7 separate regions of the Homo sapiens genome follow, and all the other regions are linked to region 5. The links are contacts of gene promoters, found by promoter capture Hi-C in blood cells and fetal thymus (Javierre and others, 2016). All regions are on one chromosome and are shown on one strand. The core of a region is centred on a gene start or on the middle of the fragment in contact, and the rest is flanking DNA. Distances in the headings are between cores, read along the strand shown.

The links. Contacts are between HindIII fragments. The CHiCAGO score rates a contact against its expected background, and 5 or more counts as called.
Region 1: a fragment that was not itself captured here is called in contact with the fragment with the promoter of KRT15 in region 5 in 9 of 17 cell types (naive CD8 T cells, M2 macrophages, total B cells and 6 more); the score reaches 9.3 in naive CD8 T cells.
Region 2: a fragment that was not itself captured here is called in contact with the fragment with the promoter of KRT15 in region 5 in 9 of 17 cell types (non-activated CD4 T cells, activated CD4 T cells, total CD8 T cells and 6 more); the score reaches 11.3 in non-activated CD4 T cells.
Region 3: a contact is called between a fragment that was not itself captured here and the fragment with the promoter of KRT15 in region 5, in 5 of 17 cell types (erythroblasts, monocytes, M2 macrophages and 2 more). The highest score is 8.5, in erythroblasts.
Region 4: a fragment that was not itself captured here is called in contact with the fragment with the promoter of KRT15 in region 5 in 5 of 17 cell types (naive CD8 T cells, activated CD4 T cells, naive B cells and 2 more); the score reaches 7.2 in naive CD8 T cells.
Region 6: a contact is called between a fragment that was not itself captured here and the fragment with the promoter of KRT15 in region 5, in 15 of 17 cell types (M1 macrophages, M2 macrophages, naive CD8 T cells and 12 more). The highest score is 14.8, in M1 macrophages.
Region 7: a contact is called between the fragment with the promoter of KRT25 here and the fragment with the promoter of KRT15 in region 5, in 3 of 17 cell types (M1 macrophages, total CD8 T cells and M0 macrophages). The highest score is 9.0, in M1 macrophages.

The regions. Positions count from the first base shown.
Region 1 is chr17:40,887,744-40,890,443 of GRCh38, forward strand. All of the region lies in intron 1 of LOC105371777 (a long non-coding RNA gene), which reads left to right. Among named protein-coding and RNA genes, the nearest start is that of KRT20, 3.9 kb to the left of the region's middle. The HindIII fragment of the contact is 6,046 bases long and covers 1-2,700 here.
Region 2 is chr17:40,925,594-40,928,293 of GRCh38, forward strand. KRT23 (keratin 23) reads right to left here. Exons shown (of 9, transcript NM_015515.5): 6 at 2,645-2,700. Among named protein-coding and RNA genes, the nearest start is that of KRT23, 11 kb to the right of the region's middle. The HindIII fragment of the contact is 4,468 bases long and covers 1-2,700 here.
Region 3 is chr17:40,811,830-40,814,529 of GRCh38, forward strand. LOC105371776 (a long non-coding RNA gene) reads left to right here. Exons shown (of 4, transcript XR_934753.2): 4 at 2,119-2,299. Among named protein-coding and RNA genes, the nearest start is that of KRT10-AS1, 6.0 kb to the right of the region's middle. The HindIII fragment of the contact is 4,415 bases long and covers 1-2,700 here.
Region 4 is chr17:40,942,816-40,945,515 of GRCh38, forward strand. All of the region lies in intron 1 of LOC107985072 (a long non-coding RNA gene), which reads left to right. Among named protein-coding and RNA genes, the nearest start is that of KRT23, 6.5 kb to the left of the region's middle. The HindIII fragment of the contact is 5,430 bases long and covers 1-2,700 here.
Region 5 is chr17:41,517,540-41,520,239 of GRCh38, forward strand. It overlaps KRT15 (keratin 15), which reads right to left and starts at 1,351. Exons shown (of 8, transcript NM_002275.4): 1 at 791-1,351. The coding sequence starts at 1,288. RefSeq lists an enhancer at 1,691-2,690. The HindIII fragment of the contact is 23,808 bases long and covers 1-2,700 here.
Region 6 is chr17:40,870,627-40,873,326 of GRCh38, forward strand. The region is part of intron 1 of LOC105371777 (a long non-coding RNA gene); the gene reads left to right. Among named protein-coding and RNA genes, the nearest start is that of KRT12, 4.8 kb to the left of the region's middle. The HindIII fragment of the contact is 527 bases long and covers 1,086-1,612 here.
Region 7 is chr17:40,753,890-40,756,589 of GRCh38, forward strand. KRT25 (keratin 25) reads right to left here and starts at 1,442. Exons shown (of 8, transcript NM_181534.4): 1 at 954-1,442; 2 at 497-579; 3 at 1-127. The coding sequence starts at 1,382. The HindIII fragment of the contact is 3,727 bases long and covers 252-2,700 here.

The sequences.
Region 1 (2,700 bases), core at 171-2,670, 630 kb before region 5:
TTGCTCTGTCACCAGGCTGGAGTGCAGTGGCATGATCTCAGCTCACTGCAACCTCCCCCTCCCCGGTTCACACAATTCTCCTGCCTCAGCCTCCCTAGTAGCTGGGATTACAGGTGGGCACCACCACGCCGAGCTGATTTTTGTATTTTTAGTAGAGATGGGGTTTCACCACGTTGGCCAGCCTGATCTTGATCCCTTGACCTTGTGATCTGCCTGCCTCAGCCTCCCAAAGTGCTGGCATTACAGGCGTGAGCCACTGCACCCGGCCCAGCCAATTTTTTTCTTTTTTTTGAGAAATAACTTTGTCTATATCTTATTCCAGAAATCTTTGGCTAGTTTTGGTAAGTTTTTGAGGTTTTAAATTTAAACTAAAATATGATACAATAGTGTCATCATTATGAGGTATAGTCATTCAATCTACCAATTTGTTGGAGTAGAAAAAATTCTACTGGAAAGCCTCCCACCTGTTTATATAAGGGCAGGAGAATTTGCTGGCTTCTCTATATCACTGAGTTTTGTACTTTTGTAGATTATTCGATCTTATAATGTGACCACAGGAAATCAAGTGAGTTTTTCACAGCAATTCATTTTTCTGAGTTATATCTCGAGGACTGAGTAAAGATCCTATTGACCCTTGTTCATACACAAAGTCATGAATTTAGAGACCCTGGTATTTCAGGCTGTTGGGTGACTGCAGCTGTAAATAAATACTTATTAGATCCCAACTTCCTTGTAGCTAGTAGGAGATACATTTTGACTTCTGAGACACTCTACTGAGAGTGTTAATGATTAATATTAAGTATGGCCAGTAGTTGGGAAGGCTATTATAAGCACTACAGTTTTCAGAGGGCTTTCAACTTTTTTCTTTTTTTTTGTATTCTACCATGACCAAGCTATTGCAATCACATATGATAGACATAGAACCTGCAGTCTCTGGAGTGGCATCTTGTTCAGACAGGGAGAAGGAGGGTGGAAGTATGGATGAAGGAAGTTTTGCCCTGAGTTATTTGTTGAAGCGAGGAGATGGGTACAAGGAGGTTGATGTATAGTAAACTTACATCATTGTATTCTGCACAGTTAATCAGTCATATTTAGGTTTTTGTTTGTACTTATTTGGTAATTCTCAGCTGTGTTTTGATGAGTTGGATGGATTTATTTATTGTCTCATAGTGGCTATAGAATGATTGGATGAAGAATATAAATATAAATTGTTTTAGAAAATAAAACAAACTTAAAATTGGAGCAAGTACCAAGCAGATCTGAAATACAAACCAGAGGAAATAAATAATGCCGTTAAAATTACAAGTTCAGTGGATGGATCCAGGAACAGATTAAGCCAGGATTATTGAACAAAATGTAGCTCTGAGGAAAATTTCCAGAATGCAGCTAAGTGACGAAGGAGGAAGTCAAGAAGGCATGAAGGCTATAATTAGAAGGTCTAAATATGTCTAATCAGAGTTCCAGAAGAAGACACAAGAGAATAAGAAAACATTCAACAAAATAAAAAGTGAGAATTTTATAGAATTCTTTAAAAAAAACCCAAGTTCTCAGATTAAGGAGACCTAATGAATTCCAGGCAAAAGGAATAAAAATAAATCACTACACACATTGAGGCAGAAAACCAGATAATTACAAGCAGATAGAGAATAAATCACCAACAAAGGAATGGTGGTTAGACTGATGACTGACTCCTCAAAAGCAACAATGGACACTGGAAATGGAATAGAATCTTCAATGTGCTGGGAGGAAATAACTGCCATTCCGGAATTTTCTGACTCGGTAACATTATATTTGAAGAAGGGTAAAATAAAGCCATTTTCAACATTTAAAAAACTGAATTTGCCATCAACTTCTAAGTTTTCACTAAGAGCAATCTGAAAGAATGTGTTTTAAGCAGAAGGAAGATGATTCCAGATGAAAGTTCTGAGATGCATAAAAGAATTAAAATAATGAACAAATAGAGTGCTAAGCATGCGACCAAATGTAAATGTAAAGACAAGTATTGGCTATAAAATAATATATCTATTGAGAAGAAAAAACAATATGGAATTAAAGTAGATGAGGGCTGGAAGGGGATGAATGGAGTTAAATTGTTCTAAATTGCGGGACTGTTTAGGAAAACAGCAAACATACAGATTAACTTTAGATATTGACAGGTTAAGAATGCATATTATATTTTCCACACAGGGACACATGGCGGAGAACAACACACACTGGCACCTGTGGTTGGGGGGAAAGCATCAGGAAGAATAGCTAATGGACGCTAGGCTTAATACCTGGGTGTTGGGATGATCTGTGCAGTAAACCACCGTGGCACATGTTTACCTATGTAACAAAACTGCACATCCTGCACATTTACCCCTGAACTTAAAATAAAAGTTGAAGAAAAAAAAGAATGCATATTATGTTTTCTAATTTTATGGTTTTGCCTTTCACATGATGGCTCTTACAATGATCTGGAAATAAGCCAGTGAATTAGCACAAAGAGCTCAGAAACAGATCTGTTGCCTATAGAAACTAATTTTGTACGGCTTGGGCATTTCAAATCAATGAGGAAAGAAATGGAGTATCCCATATTTAACAAATGGCAGTTGTATTTCTGTCTAAGGCAAAATTTACCTAAAATATAAGAAAATGAATTCCAGATTCATTAAAGATAAAAATGTGAAAAGTTAAAAACTATACAACATTTAGAAGAAA
Region 2 (2,700 bases), core at 147-2,646, 590 kb before region 5:
TCTGTTAATTAACTGATGGCTTGATTGAGTCAATAACAGGTGATTGTTGAGTACTTAGCAGATGTCGACCAGTTGGCTAGGTGTCTTGGTAGCTGCTGAGGACACCAAGATGAGAAGTAGGCTGACTTACAGGTTTGGGACTTGGGCAGTCAGGAGTTGAGCAGTGTTAGGACTTTTGAAGTCCATTGCCTTGCTCTGAACTGTTGTTTAACTCCTTTCATTTTATCTTTGACCTGATTGAAAACTCCCAAAGAGCGACAGCAACTGGGACTGCTATCTCTTTGTATCTTCGGAGAAGGGTCTCAATTAGGGATGCCAGATAAAATAGAGAACATCTAGTTAAATTTGAATTTCAGATGAGTAATGAGTAATTTTTTAGTGTAACTATGTCCAAAATATTGCTCCAGTATTGCATGGGACATGCAAAAAAAATTGCTTTTTATTTGAAATTCCAACTAAACTGAGTATTCTATATTTTAATTTGGTAAATCTGGCAACCCTAGTCTCAAGCAATGCTTTTTGATTATGACGATGGTAAAAAAAAAAAATGTCATTTTTTGAGGAAATTCTAACAGCTGCCAAATGAAGTTTCTGGGCTAGAATATGGAGGATTGAGTTCAAGTCCCAGTTCTGTTTGCATGTAACACCTGCTTTTCTGAAGCGCATAATTTTAACCTTAAAGAGAATCTCCTAACTGTGCTGGATACTCTCCCTTTATCGTGGCTGCTAATTTTCAGGGGGCCGTTCATGCTGCCTGGCGGTTAAAGCACATTTCCCTGGTCAGCCAGTCTCCTACTCTCCCAGGAGGTTATTTTGTTCCCTCTCCTCTGTCCTTGCCATCCTTCCTCGGAGTCCATGGCCTCGCTTCCTAATTTTGTTGATGAAATGAAAGCAATCGGGAGAGACCGCCCACTGCTCCCTACATTGCTCCCAGGCACATACTTGAATCTGCATCTGGGTGCTGGCTTCCCTCTGTTCTTTTGTGTGAGCTGTCTGTGCTCCAGTCATCTCGGCAGTTGCCCGCCTTCTTGCGTTATCAATATTCTCTCTGGATTATTCCCACCAGCTTTCAAATAGAATAATTTTTCCTACCTTAAAATATATCTTTCTTAAACCCATATCTACCTTCAGCTATCATCCAATTTCTCTGCTCTCCTTCAGCTACAGCAAAGCTCCTCAAAGAGTTGTCTATGCCTGCTGTTCCTCTTGAGACCCCTCCAAGGTAGCCTACAAAGCCCTACACTGTCTGGTTCTGTTGGGACTCCGCGGCCTCACCCTGTCTTCCTCCCTCTTCCCCTCCCTTCCCCTCCTCTTCTCTCCTTTCTTCTTCCCTTCATTCACTCACTGTAGCCACATGGACTTCCCTGCTGCTCCTCCAACTCATCAGACACACTTGTGCCTTGTCGCTTTTGCACTTGCTGTTCCCTCCTCTTGGAACACATCCCATCACCACATCAAGCACCTCCTTACCTCTTTGCTCACTGCCACTCTAACAGGAAAACCTTTCCTGACCACCTTGTTTAAGATAGCAGCTCTTCACCCTGGTGCATCTGCCCTCCTCCTCTGCTTCATCTCTGTAGCAATTTTCTCCATCTAACATATATTTTGATGATTTGCACATTTATTATCTGTCACTCCTACTAGAATATAAACTCCTTCATTAAAAAATCCTCAGTGCTAAGGATTGGTGTCAGATAGTAGAATGCATGAAAATGGGTATACATGCCTCGCCTGTTTCACAGGGCCATTGTGAAATACTGTATGTTAAAACGTTTTGAAAGTTGCACTATAATTATTTTTGTACTCATGATCTCTACGTGCACATTTGCAGTGTCTGTTCACCATCACGGATGCATAAAACACAGCAGTCATTTACCCAAGTGCACCTGCAACATAAATGAACAAATCATTGCCTCTCAAGACTGAGGGTAGAATCGCACTTGGCAATTATATGGATGAATGATTAGAAGACTCAATAGGGTATACTGGGAATCAAATGATAGACCTTCATAAATTTTGAATGCTTATGACCATGCTAAGCATTTTTCTAAACTGTGAAGATGATAGAAATGACTTGGACACAAGAACTTAGAGTTTTCTGGGTGATAAGACATATACATAAATGAATAGGGCAGTGCTTTGGAGTTAGCCAGGCCTGGATCTGCCACCTACCATGTTGGCACTGGAATTTCTCTACATTGGGGTTTGAGGGGGGTAGCCTGGTTGTAAGTGGAGAGGGCACTGATAGAAATTATGGGGGTCTAGAATCCCCCTTCCTCCAAATAAATCATATGGTTTCATCACCAGTTACTTACTAGCTGTGTGACCTTGGCCAATTTATTTTACTGTTGGAGTTTTGGTTTCCTCATCTCTAAAATGGGGACACTAAGACCTATCTGGGAAGGTTACTGTAAGGATTAATGACATTTAATATCATGAACTACTTAGCACAATGCCTGGCACCATCGGGACACTCAATACATGGTAGCCCTTTATTATGGTTCTCATCATAAACAATTTGGATGGAAAGTGGAAAGTGAGAGTTGTCCCAAGGGAGTTGAGGGTCAGGGCCTGGGAGAGAGGTCTCAGAAGGCTTCGTGAAGGAGGTGGTGTGGGATTCACGGTTTTCCTAGCCTTGACTCACCGTGCTGTACTGTGTCTGCAGGTCAATCTCCAGGGCCTGGAATGTGCGCTTCAGTT
Region 3 (2,700 bases), core at 191-2,690, 710 kb before region 5:
AGTTGTATAGTGGTATGTTTAGAATTTGTATTTCCCTAATGTCTAATGATGTCAAGCATCTTCTTTGTGTGCTTATTTGCCATTTGTATCTCTTCTTTGATAAAGTATCAGTTCAAATCTTTTGTCCATTTTTTAATTGGTTTGTGGTTTTTTTCTTGTTATTGAGTTGTAGTTTTTTATATTTATATTCTATATGCCAGTCCTTTATAAGATTTGTATTTTTGTGACTATTTTCTCCCAGTCTTTGGCTTTTTAAAATTATTTTGACGGTGACTTTCAATAGATGACACAAACAAATGGAAAAACATCATATGCTCATGGATTGGGTGAATAATGATATTGGGTCAATATTGTTAAAATGACCATACTGCCCAAAACGAACTACAGGTTCAATGCTATTCCTATCAAATCACCAATGTAATTTTTCACAGAACTAGAAGAAACTATTCTAACATTCATATGGGACCGATGAAGATCATGAATAGCCAAAGTAATCCTAAGTGAAAAGAACACAATGAAATACAAATGGGCTATATAATGATCAAAATACATGAGCAGATGTTTCACCAAAGAGGAGATACGGATGGCAAATAGCCACATGAAAAGCTGTTCAGGCCAGACACAGTGGCTCACGCCTGTAATCCCAACACTTTGGGAGGCTGAAGTGGGTGGATCACCTGAGGTCAGGAGTTTGAGACCAGCCTGGCTGACATGGTGAGACCTCATCTCTACTAAAAATACAAAAATTAGCTGGGCATGGTGGCGCATGCCTGTAATCCCAGCTACTCAGGAGGCTGAGGTAGGAAAATCACTTGAACTTGGGAGGCAGAGGTTGCGGTGAGCTGAGATTGCTCCACTGCACTCCAGCCTGGGCGCCAGAGAAAGTCTCTGTCTCAAAACAAGAAAAAAGAGAGAGAAAAAAAAGAAAATAAAAAGAAAAGCTATTCAGCATATTTTCCATTAGGGAAATGCAAATTAAACTTCAGTGAGCTATAAGTACATACCTATTAGAAAAATACTGATAATGCCAAATACTGATGAGGATGCAGAAAAATTTGCTCTCCCATTTATTGCTGGTGGCAATATAAAATGGTACAGCTTCTCTGGACAACAGTTTGGCGGTTTCTTACAAAACTGAACATGCACCTACCATATGACCTAGCAATTATATGCTTGGACATATAACCCAGAGAAATGAAAATGTATGTTCACACCAAAACGTGTACACAAATGTTCAGTCTCAAAAGGTTACATACTGTGTGATTACACTTATATAGCATTCTCTAAATGGTAAAACTATAGAGATGGAGATTAGTAGTTGCCAGGGGCCAGGAACTGGGAAGGGAGTGTTGAGGTACACATGTGAATACAAAAAGGTAGCATGAAGGAGTTCTTTTGTGGTTATGAAATGGTTCTGTATCTTGATTTGGGTGGTGGTACAAAAATTGTACCTATACATGGGGTACAATTGCACAGACACACAATTTTTTTTTGGTTTGTGGTTTTTTCTTGTTATTGAGTTATAGTTTTTTATATTTATATTCTATATGCCAGTCCTTTATAAGATTTGTATTTTGTGAATACACATGCAGGTTAGGAAAAACAAAAACTGAGTAAGCTCTGTAGTTAAACAGTGATGTACCAATGCCAATTTTTAAATTTTAGATATTATACCCTAGCCTATAGAAGATGTCTCTATTTGGGGAAGGTGAGTCAGGAGTACACTGGACTCTACTATTTTTGCAATTTCCAACGAGTCTATAATTATTTCAAAATTTAAAAAATGTGATTACACATTTTTTTCTGCTTTTTTTTTACTACTTATATGGATGTTTAAGACACTCATTTGGATTATTTCTAGTATGTTTGTTATGGGTTTAATAGTTTATCATTTACTGAATAAACCTTACTTTCTTAGGGTTTAGATTCTTCCTTTATCATACACTAATGTCCATTTATATATAATCATTTCCTACACTCTTAGTTCCAGTGATGAATTAAATTGTGCTTCAGTTTCTTCATCTGTAAAATGGAGATAATAATAGTATATATGTCATAGAGTTCATTCCTTCAAAAACGATATTTTTGGTACCTAACCTGTGTTAGTCACTGTTCTAGTGCCTCAGGATACATGAATGGATAAAGTAGACGAAGATCAAGCGTTGTCTTTCTGGAGTGTACCGTCTAGCAGGGGAAAAGGATGACTAATAATGAATACATTGTATAGTAAGTTGGAAACAGTGCTGTGAAAAAAAGAAAAAGTGGAAAACCTAGGCAATACCATTCAGGACACAGGCATGGGCAAAGACTTCATGACTGAAAAACCAAAAGCAATGGCAACAAAAGCCAAAATTGACAAATGGGATCTAATTAAACTAAAGAGCTTCTGCACAGCAAAAGAAACTATCATCATGGTGAACAGGCAACCTACAGAAAGGGAGAAAATTTTTGCAATCTACCCATCTGACAAAGGGCTAATATCCAGAATCTACAAAGAACTTAAACAAATTTACAAGAAAAAAACAACCCCATCAAAAAGTGGACAAAGGAAATGAACAGACTTCTCAAAAGAAGACGTTTATGCAGCCAACAGACATATGAAAAAATGCTCAACATCACTGGTCATCAGAGAAATGCAAATCAAAACCACAATGAGATACCATCTCACACCAGTTAGAATGGCGGTCATTAAAAAGTCAG
Region 4 (2,700 bases), core at 97-2,596, 570 kb before region 5:
TCCTCCTTCTTCCTTCTTCCTTCTCTTCTTCTTCTTCTTCTCCTCCTTCTCCTTCCTCCTCTTCCTCCTCCTCTTCCTCTTCCTCTTCTTCTTTCTTCCTTTTTTACTTTGCCATAGAGACAATACTTTAGGTTCACTAAAATTTTTGCAGTTGTGGGATATTGATTCAAGCACCTGCTCATTTAAAGTGGTTGGCTATATTTAAAATGTTTTTATTGCTTTTTATCTCATACCCCCAAACTGTGCATTTCATCTCCAATTTCATTATTGGTTGAATTCCACAGCCACAAATCATATGACTTAAAATCTTCTAACTTAGTTATTAATTTTATTGAAGATTTCCTTTAGGGGTACTCTGGTTTTATAAATAGACTAATATGACACAATTCCTACTTAAAAACTATTTTAAATTTTTATTTTAATAGTTTTTGGGAAACAGGTGGTTTTCAATTACATTAATGAATTTTTTTGTTTGCAGATGATGCAATCTATTTTTTTAAATTATTATATTTTAAGTTCTGGGTTACATATGCAGGTTTGTTACATAGGTAAACATGTGCCAGGTGGTTTGCTGCACCTATCAACCCATCACTTAGGTATTAAGCCCAGCATGCAATAGGTCTTTTCCCTACTGCTCTCCCCACCCGCCCTCCCCTGAAAGGCCTCTGTGTGTGTTGTTCCCCTCTCTGTGTCCAGATGTTCTCATGGTTCTGCTCCCACTTATAAGTGATAACATGTGGTGTTTGATTTTCTGTTCCTGTGTTAGTTTGCTGAAGATAATGGCTTCCAGCTTCATCCATGTCCCTGCAAAGGACATGATGTTGTTCCTTTTTATGGCTGTATGGTATTCCATGATGTGTATGTACCACATTTTCTTTATCCAGTGTATTATTGATGGGCATTTGGGTTGATTCCATGTCTCTGCTATTGTGAGTAGTAGCTGCAATGAACATACATGTGCATATATCTTTATAATAGAATGATTTAATATTTTTTTGGCAGGCCACCAGGTCTGTTGGGGTGATATCCAGTAGCAGGATTGCTGGGTCAGATGGTCTTTCCAGTTCTAAATCTTTGAGGAATTGCCACACTGTCTACCACAATGGTTGAACTAATTTACATTCCCACCAACAATGTAAAAGCATTCCCATTTCTCCACAACCTCACCAGTATCTGTTGTTTCTTGACTTTTTAATAATCACCATTCTGACTGGTGTGAGTTGGTATCTTGTGGTTTTGATTTGCATTTACCTAATTATCAGTGATGTTGAGCCTTTTTTCATATGATAGGTTCTTTAGTGGTGATTTCTGAGATTTTGGTGCACCCATCACCAGAGCAGTGTACACTGTACTCAATGTGCAGTCTTTTATCCCTCACTCCCTCCCACTCCTACCTTTAAAGATCCTTCAGCCTCTAGATCCAACAGTTTAGTTTTATTTTGTTTGGCCTTTCAGTATTCTGTCAAATGACACAACCTATTATGTGAGGGTCTGCTCTGGGGTGCTTAGGAGCAGTTACTGATCTTTACCCATTTATACCTAGAATTCAGAGTTGCCAGTGCTCAGGAGACAAAGCAATTTAGCACCATCACCAGTAGAGAAAACCTGGTTGTCAAGATCTTTTCACATAGCTGCGATGAAGTCATCATCATCTGAGTGACATACTTATCATTCAGTACCTTGGTATAAGCCTGAGAAGAATGGGTTGGCCTAGCCCATCATACTGGTAGTTGATCCTCATTTATCATTATCACCTTCAGAGAAGGAGGGCACCTCCTCCCTCCTTCCAGCTTCCTTCCTTTTCCAGCTGACACCAAACCTTTCTGAGGAGGCAAGTGATGTTTCAGCTAGATAACTTCTTTCAAAGGACTGCCAGAACACTCTGACTTAAGCCTGGTTTTAGAAAGATCCTTAAATCCTTTTGCACTGCCTCTGTGCAAAAGGCCTGTGCAGTGATTTCATTCCCTTAACACAACAGCAGGAAAAACAGATCCCTGCAAATGGGTGGGAAGTGCTGTTGCAAAGCTGAAACGACTTCACTCTTCTTTTTCTCCTTATGATTATCTTAATCTGATGGACATGATAGGTAATCAAATAAATCCTTTACACAAAGACCGTTGTTGTTAGTGATCCTGGAATTAACCTGCGTGTTAGCTTTAGTCCTCGCTGGGCGTTACTTTCTTTTGCCTTAGGAGGAGATGTTTTGAGTTAGCTGTGGTGTTGGTAGCTGAAACATCATCTCATGCAATTTGCTGAAGTCTTGTCCTTATAGGTTTTACCTTTAGCTCAGTGTGGTTCATGTTGCGGCAGGGCAAGGGTATGCAAGGCTGTTGGAAGGTCCTTGCTCCCAGCATTCTTCCCCACTTGATAGTTGTTGCTGCCTGAAACTCAATCATGTATTTGTTTGGTTCACTCAAATATTGCTGCTTCTTCTTCGTTTTTCTTTCTTTCTTTTTTTTCTTTTTCTTGAGACAGAGTCTTGATCTGTTGCCCAGGCTGGAGTGCACTGGCGCCATCTCAGCTCACTGCAGTCTCCACCCCCCAGGTTCAAGCCTCCCGAGCAGCTGGGATTACAGGCGCCCACCACCATGCCCTGCTATTTTTTGTATTTTTTGTAGAGATGGGGTTTCACCATGTTGGCCAGGCTGGTCTCAAACTCCTGACCTTGAAAGATCTGCTTGGCTCAGCTTCCCAAAGTGT
Region 5 (2,700 bases), core at 101-2,600:
TCATGGTCACTGCCTCCTGCACACCTTGGACACAGCCATGGATCTACAGAACATTCCAGCCAGTAGCAACCTGGAGGGCAGTTAAGAAGGCATTTTACGAATGAGGAACCCAGTCTTAGGGAGTAAAATGGTGAGTGAGTGGGTGGCAGAATGTGTAATGAGTTCCCAGGTCTCCTAAGACCCAACAGTACTTTTGGCACAAAAGACCTCTTTATAGGAAAAGACAAGAGGTTCTAGCATCTGGAACTCATGAGGCCACACTCCAATCCCATTCTTGCAAAAGAGGTAAAGGAATACTTTATGCAGAAGCCTGCAGGGTGCATGAGGTAGGGAGGGCGAGTTGCTCTTTTTTTTTAATTATTTTTATTTAATTAGATACAGGTTCCACTCTGTCACCTAGGCCGGAGTGCAGTGGCACAGTCATAGCTCACTGCAGCCTCTAAATCCTGGACACGAGCAATCCTATCACCTTGGCCCCCCAAAGCACTGGGATTACAGGTGTGAGCTACTGCCTCTGGCTCTTTATAATTGCCCCCACCTGTGCCCCTGTTGGTCCTAACCAGATTCCCAAGACCCCTCTCTCCCTCCCCCAGCACCACCAAGTTGAGAAGATGTGCACTGGCCTCTGCACCTGGACAGCAGGTGCATTCCAAATTTGCTGAGATTACATACCAGACAGTCATTGCCTGGGCAGGAAAGGATTTCCTTGAGTCAGCAGTAACACTGACATTAGAGCTGTGTACAGGGTACCAGCCACCTGCTCCCCTCTCTTTGACATCCGAGGACTCACCTTGTCCCGGAGCTCTTCAATGGTCTTGAAGTATTGGCTGTAGTCGCATTCTGGGCTGGTTGGGGTCTGCTTCTGGTACCAGTCATGGATCTTCACCTCCAGGTCAGCATTGGCCTCCTCCAGGGCACGTACCTTGTCCAGGTAGGAGGCCAGGCGGTCATTGAGGTTCTGCATGGTAATTTTCTCATTGCCAGAGAGGAGACCACCATCGCCACCACCAAAGCCACCACCAAAACCCCCACCAACGCCCCCTCCAAAGCCTCCACCGAAAACACTACCAGCCCCTCCACCAAAGCCACAGACCCTCATGCCACCCCCATATCCTCCTCCTGACCCTGAAGAGACAAACCTAGCAGAAGAAGCTGAGATACTTCGGCTTCCACCTCCCCCAGAGAGACTCCCCCCACCAAAGCCACCTCCCCCAGCCAGGAGGGAACCCCCTCGGGTTGAGCCACCCCCAAAGGTGGAGGAAGAAGTTTGCAGAAATGTGGTGGTCATGGCCAGGTAGCTGGAGCCCGTGAGTTCTCAGCAAACCCAAGAGATGCTGGCAGGAGGTACCAGGCCAGGCTGCACGCTGGGGCTCCTTATATACCCTTCAGAGGGTGTTGTGGGACCTCGTCTCCTCCCCTAAAGCAAAGCCAACTCCTTCTGCCTTCCTGACAAACACAGCTGCCTGCACACCTTGAGTGGGTCATGTGAAGTTTTTCTCTTCTATTTTTTTTTAATGCAACAAAAGAGATGATTCAGAATTAATAGTGTTTTTCCCCAGGGCACGGTTTTAACACTTGGATTACAGGTTCATCTCTCCATGCCAGAAGAGAGCAGCAGGGAGCGAACTCTCATCACAGCACAGCTACCAAGGCCTCTGCCTGTACTGAGAGCAGCTCAGGCCAACTGTGCCCTCAGCTGGACTTCACTTCCCCGAGCCCTGAGCCTCTCCCCAAGAGGACAGCTCCGTGTTCTTAGTTTGGGAGTCCACTGGCCGATCATTATGCTGTGTTATCCAACTCAAAACCCTGTGAGTGAGTGAGTGAGTGAATGAGTGAGTGAGTGAGTGAGTGAGAGACTGCAGGGCTCAGGGAGAGTGGAGGCCCTGGGGATGGGAATGCAGGGCCCCTGGGGGCAGGTGGAGGACAGGAGCCAGGGACCTTGAGTAGTGTTCCAGCTGAGGTGACCAGAGGAGCCAGCATCCATCCCCTTACCTGGTGCTGCAGATGGACTCCCCTCCTCCCACCTCTACTCCCCTCCTGCCATCCTCCAGCCTGTGTTCCTGGCACCCTCACAAAAGCCCAGCAGGCTTGGGACTGACAAGGGGATGACTGATGATCCCGACACCTGCCAACTGCACGGCGCTGAACCTTTGCTCGTTTCTGGGATGTGTTGGGGCAAACCTCCGCTGATAAGGCTGGGGCAAGTTCCAGGAAGCCCCTGCCTTCTCCAGGAGAGGCATGTCGCTGCTTAGCAGGGCCAGATTAGCCCCCATCTGTCCTGTCAAGTGCTGGCTGGGGACGGGCCGCTGCAGAAGGCTCTATGTGCCTGAATGCTGTGGAAGGGAAGAGAAGGGAGACTGGCAGGCAGGCTGGAAGACACCGGAGATCTTGAAGACCAAGGCATTGCTTCACACAGACGGGGAGTTGAACACTCAGGAGAGCCCTTTTCTCTGCCACCAGCTCAGGGACACCTTTCCAGGGACACCTGATACCTGTGGGCAGTGCCACTTGGAGGTGTGGCTCAGCCCTCTGGACCTGGCCCCAGGGCTTACAGAAACTCAGGAGGAGGATTCCTAGCCCAGGTTGCAGCATGGTGAAGTGGACAGGGCTCTGGAGTCCCTCAGGCCCGGGTTTGAATCCTGGCTTTATCAATTATCATGGTAAGACTGTGAGGCCTGGGTTCAAATCCTGACCCTACCA
Region 6 (2,700 bases), core at 99-2,598, 650 kb before region 5:
AAAAAAAAAAAAAGCCACTTTCCCAGGGACACAAATGATGAACCCGTGGTGAAATCCAATTACAACTTCCTTTTATATTATTACATAAGGGACAAATGTGAAGGGACATATTTCTCCCCAACCTAAACTCGTCACAAAGAGCAAGCAAGTGGGATTTCTAAATAAAGGGGGTTTAAGCAAGAGATTTGCAGAAATCACACATTTGCTATAGATGTGGAAAGAATGTAGCAACCTAAGGCAGTCTCAGCTTGAGAGAAGCCATGATCCATTTGTTTAATTTCTTGAGAGAATGAAAATCTGGTCAGTGGAAATGCCAGTGATTTTAGCCCCATATGGAGGTTTTTACCAAGGATTCCTTAAATCTATATTATAAGCATTTTGACTGAGCTGGTCTTGTTTGAATTATCAGTTATTATGTACTTACTACTTTTTGGACACTGGGCCAGCTGAATTACAGACATTATTTTTTAACCTTCACGGCAAGCTCTTAAAGTGGTACTGGTTTTATTTGTTTGTTTGTTTGAAACAAGGTCTTGCTTGGTTGCCCTCACTCCGGCTGGAGTGCAGTGGTGTGATCATAGCTCTCTGAAACCTTGAACTCCTGAGCTTAAGCAATCCTCCTGCCTCAGCCTCCCAAGTAGCTAGGACTACAGGTGGGCACCACAACACTGGCTATTTTTTTTTTTTTAATTTTTTTGTAGAGATGGAGTCTTGTTATATCGCGTAAGCTGGTCTTGAACTTTAGGCCTCAAGTGATCCTTCTGCCTTGGCCTCCCAAAGCACTGGGATTACGGGCATGAGCCACCTCAAGGCGCCCAGCTTCAGGTGGTACTTTTATCCTATTTTACAGATGAGCAATCTGAGAGTCCAGATGTTAAGTGATTTATTTACGCCCATGCAGCTGGGAGGAGGCAGAGATAGGATTCGGGCCTGCAGTGCCTTCTATAGATACCACAACCTTGCTGCTGGCGGTGACAATAAAAAGGGCAGAGGATACTCTGACATCCCCTAGCTATGACACCTGACACTAGGCTTCTGCCCTGCACATCTAACAGGAGGTGCTCTTTTTTTTTTCTTTTCTTTTAAGCTTTCTCCTTGAATTTCTCAGTGTATGGGCTGAGACCTAGAGAATGACTTTTCATGGCTTATAAGCAACAACATGACACATGAAATTCTGTAAACACACAGGCAAATGCGGTTTTCATTTTAGCTTTGACCTGTAACTACATCTCCAGAGATCTTATAAAGCACAAGTTAAACTTGCACTCCCCACACAAGAACTTGATGTTATGGTTGTTAACTATTATTCACTCCCAAGTGTCCCCCAAGACAGAGAGATTCCATTTTACTGCCATAGAAATGAAAACAGAAGCAAATAAAATGTCAAAAGAAATGTGCCAAGTTCAAAATTGTACCTCAGTGATTTGATCACATAATACGGGAATATGATTAAGTTGAATTTTTGAACTTGGAATTGATTTTGTGCTGAAAGGTACACTTTCCAACTCTAATGCCTATGGTAAAATTTAAATAATATTGCTCAATCTCTAAAAATTATGTTTATATATTATTTGTTTATGTTTCTATACATATAACATATTATCCTAGACTAAGCTTGTTAGGTAGGTACTACATCTAATTTATTTTTTATCCTGAGTCCTAGCCTAGTGTTTCGCTGAACTTTATCACTGCACTCCTTGAATGATTTCATTTGAAAGAAGTTAAGTCTTAATGTGTTTGAATGTGTCATTTGAAATTCATTTCATTTGAAAATGACTGTGCCCTAATTTACTGGTATGCTTTGACCAATATTTATTCTGAATTCAGTTATGAATGGGGAGCAACTTCAGAAGTTGAAAAGGGAAATATTTCTTCTTCAGTGGCTTTTTTTTTTTTAAGTGGGAGGCTAAGTTAAATAATCAAGACTCTGCTTTAGAGGTTTTAGAAGTGAAAATAATTTTCTTTGACAGCCACATTAATGTATAAGGCAGTGGTGATGTAAAAAACAATAAACAATCTTGGGCTTGTTGGCAGAGTGATTGCATAAGTTGAGGCAGAGAGGAAAATGATTATAGCCAGGGCAAACTGTTCAAAAGAATTATATCTTCCATTTTTGTAGAGTTTAGGAAATGTTCAAAATAGAGAAAATTAGTTATGTGGTTTTTACAAGTCTTTAGATTTTTATTGAGTAAATCATACCCTCATCTTTTCATGTCAGGTTGGTTTCTGTCCTGGTCTTTGCAGGGTTTTCTACCTGAGTTTTTTCCCGTAAGACAGACCTGTCATTTTCTGCAACTCGCTGATCCCTTGATCTGTAACATCTTTCACTTTGGATAACATTATAAAATCCTGTGAGTGACTGAGAGAATTTTGGGTTGCCTACATTTTATGTATTGTGCTTTTGAGATGAGGGTTAAACAAGGACCCTAAGGGGTATGAGTGAGATTGACTTCTGGGCTCCAGAGATCAATGGTTCTTGAAAGCAGGGGAGAATTTTGAAAGTGGTAGGAGACAGGAAGATGATAAAATAATACCCTGATGAGAGGAATCTTGGAAATGAGCCTAGGGGAGAGAAAACAGAGATGTTTGAAAGAGAATTCAAAAATAAAAATCACTACTAATGCTTTAAGTTGGAATTGTTACTTGGGGGTCTAATCAGGTACCTGAGGCTGATCCTGATGCATGTGGATGAGAACAGAG
Region 7 (2,700 bases), core at 192-2,691, 760 kb before region 5:
CTCCTCACTCAGGGTTTCATACTGAATCTCCAGATCTGTTCTGCACAGGGTTATTTCATCCAAAACTCTTCGTAACCCATTGACATCAGCCTCTACACTCTGGTGAAGAGCCAGCTCATTTTCATACCTTAAAGAGTGTTAATGATTTCCTAATTTGTCACATGGTTGGAGACATAGTCACTAGTCACTGATCAATGACAAATGCTAGCATTCTGGAATTTTGAAGATTTGGCCACAAGAGGCATTTTCAAAGCTTGTTGTATAATAATTATTGTTTCTACTTTGCAGTATTTGACAGAAAAAGAACTAGGGTATTGGGCGCTAGTTTTAATAGCAGTTCATGCTTTGTATTTAATAGTCAAAGCATAAAAAAGTAATAACATCCTGTTTATGTGAAATTCAAGTGTTTTATAATTTTGGAATAAGAGTTGCTAAATTTGATGTAATGCGTTGCATGAATTGCCATGAATTCATTTCACTCTGGCAGTCTACTTACTTGAGTCTGAAATCATCAGCTGTAAGCCTGGCATTATCGATCTGCAGAACAGCATTAGCATTGCTGGTGGTGGATGCGATGATCTAGAAATGGGAATTTGACTTTTATCATGAAGTAAACCAACTGAATCTACTTAATGCTTATTTCTAATGCTAAATTGGAATTCTCTTTAAGAAATCACAAGTAGGAGGGCATGGTGGCAGGCACCTGTAATCCCAGCTACTTGGGAGGCTGAGGCAGGAGAATCTCTTGAACCCAGGAGGTGGAGGTTGCAGTGAGCCAAGATCCCACGGTTGCACTCCAGCCTGGGCAACAAGAGCAAAACTCCTTCTCAAAAAAAAAAAAAAAAAAAAATCACAAGTAGGAATGATAAATGTTTTTAGAATTTAATAAAGAAAGGAAAACAAAATTTAGAAATAAAGGTACATGAAAATGATTGTGCAGTATGATTTCTTACCTGATTTTTAAGGTCATCAATTATTGGGAAATATCTGCTATAGTCATGATCAAGACCACGGCAAGAGCCAGGCCCAAATTTCTCATACCAGCCCTTGATCTTCTGCTCCAGGTCAGCGTTGGCCTCCTCCAGAGCATGCACACTGTCCAGGTAGGATGCCAGGCGGTCATTGAGGTTCTGCATGGTCACCTTCTCATTGCCAGAAAGGAGCCCCCGCTCATTCACAGTGAAGCCAGCACAGGGATTACCTCCCCCTGTGTTTCCTCCCGATGAGCTGCCTCCGAAGGCACTAGAGAAGCCACTTCCAATCCCTGAAATGCCACAAGAATTTCCAGTACCAAAGCTGGTTCCCCCACCATAGAGTCTGAGTGATCCAGTGGTGGGACGAGGACAGGACCTCCTGGATGCACTGGAAAGTCGAAGAGACATGGTATCAGGGCAAACGCGTTGCAGAGCTGTATTTGTGAAAGCCAGAATGGAGTGCCTTCTTGTCTAAAAGGTTTGGTTTGCCTTTTTATAGGCAAGTCCCAAGTGTGTTCTGAATGAAATTCTGCCTACACAGAGTAAAACATGGCTTGCCAGTCTCAGCAAGTTGGCATAATTGGGTGATTTTTTCTAATTAGTAACTCACTTTGCTGGGCTCATTCCTGTAGGAGGGCAGTTGCCCTCAGGTTGGTGGTTATCTGAGAAATGGGTCTGGGTGGAGCAATGTCAGGTTCATTATTACGTTTTTAAATGCTGAGTGAGTCATTCTTCACTTCCATCCTTGGAAGTAAACCTCATCAGCTCATTACAGGATAGAAATTTAGCATCATGGTTTTGGGCTATTATGCCAAGGCAGATTGTGATGTTTCTGAGGCTTTTTCTGCTTTTATTTTCACAAGTTTTTCCACATAAGTAGAGAATAGAACTGTAATCATTTCCCCAACCTGGTTCTTCAACCAATAGGTTTTTGTTTTTATTTTTAAATTCCTCTTGCCACTCTTTCCCATGGGAAGTTAACTTCCATTCTGGCTGACATGAGCATCATATTCTGTTGACACTTATGACTGAGGAGAGTTGTCTTACCTTATCCATTTTGGTAATTAGGAGCACACCCCTAATTGGTGTTATGTTTTGTGGGAGTTTGGAAAGACATTAACTTATTTCCTGACCCTGCAAAATCTGAAGCAAACCTGGTAGGAACTATTTTTTCTGTCTTAATTTATTGTGGTTTAGCTCAGATGAAAGTCATCAGTAAGGTATTTAGTCGGTGGGAATTCACATATATTTACTGAAAACTCTACCTATTATGGAAATATAAAAAATTGACAAATAAGGCCAGGCACAGTGGCTTACGCCTGTAATCCTAGCACTTTGGGAGGCTGAGGCAGGTGGATCACTTGAGGTCAGGCATTTGAGACCAGCCTCACCAACATGGTGAAACCCCATCTCTACTAAAAATACAAAAATTAGCCAGGCATCATGGCGAGGTGCCTGTAATCCCAGCTACTCGGGAGGCTGAGGCAAGAGAATCAATTGAACCTGGGAGGCAGAGGTTACAGTGAGCTAAGATTGTGTCACTGCACTCCAGCCAGAGTGACAGAATGAGACTCTGCCTCAAAAAAAAAAAAATGAGAAATAAAAATTGTATATATTTATGGTGCACGACATGATTTTTTGATATATGAATATATTGTGTAATGACCAAATCAAGCTAATTAACATATCTATTACCTCACATACCTATTTTGTGGTAAGAACATTT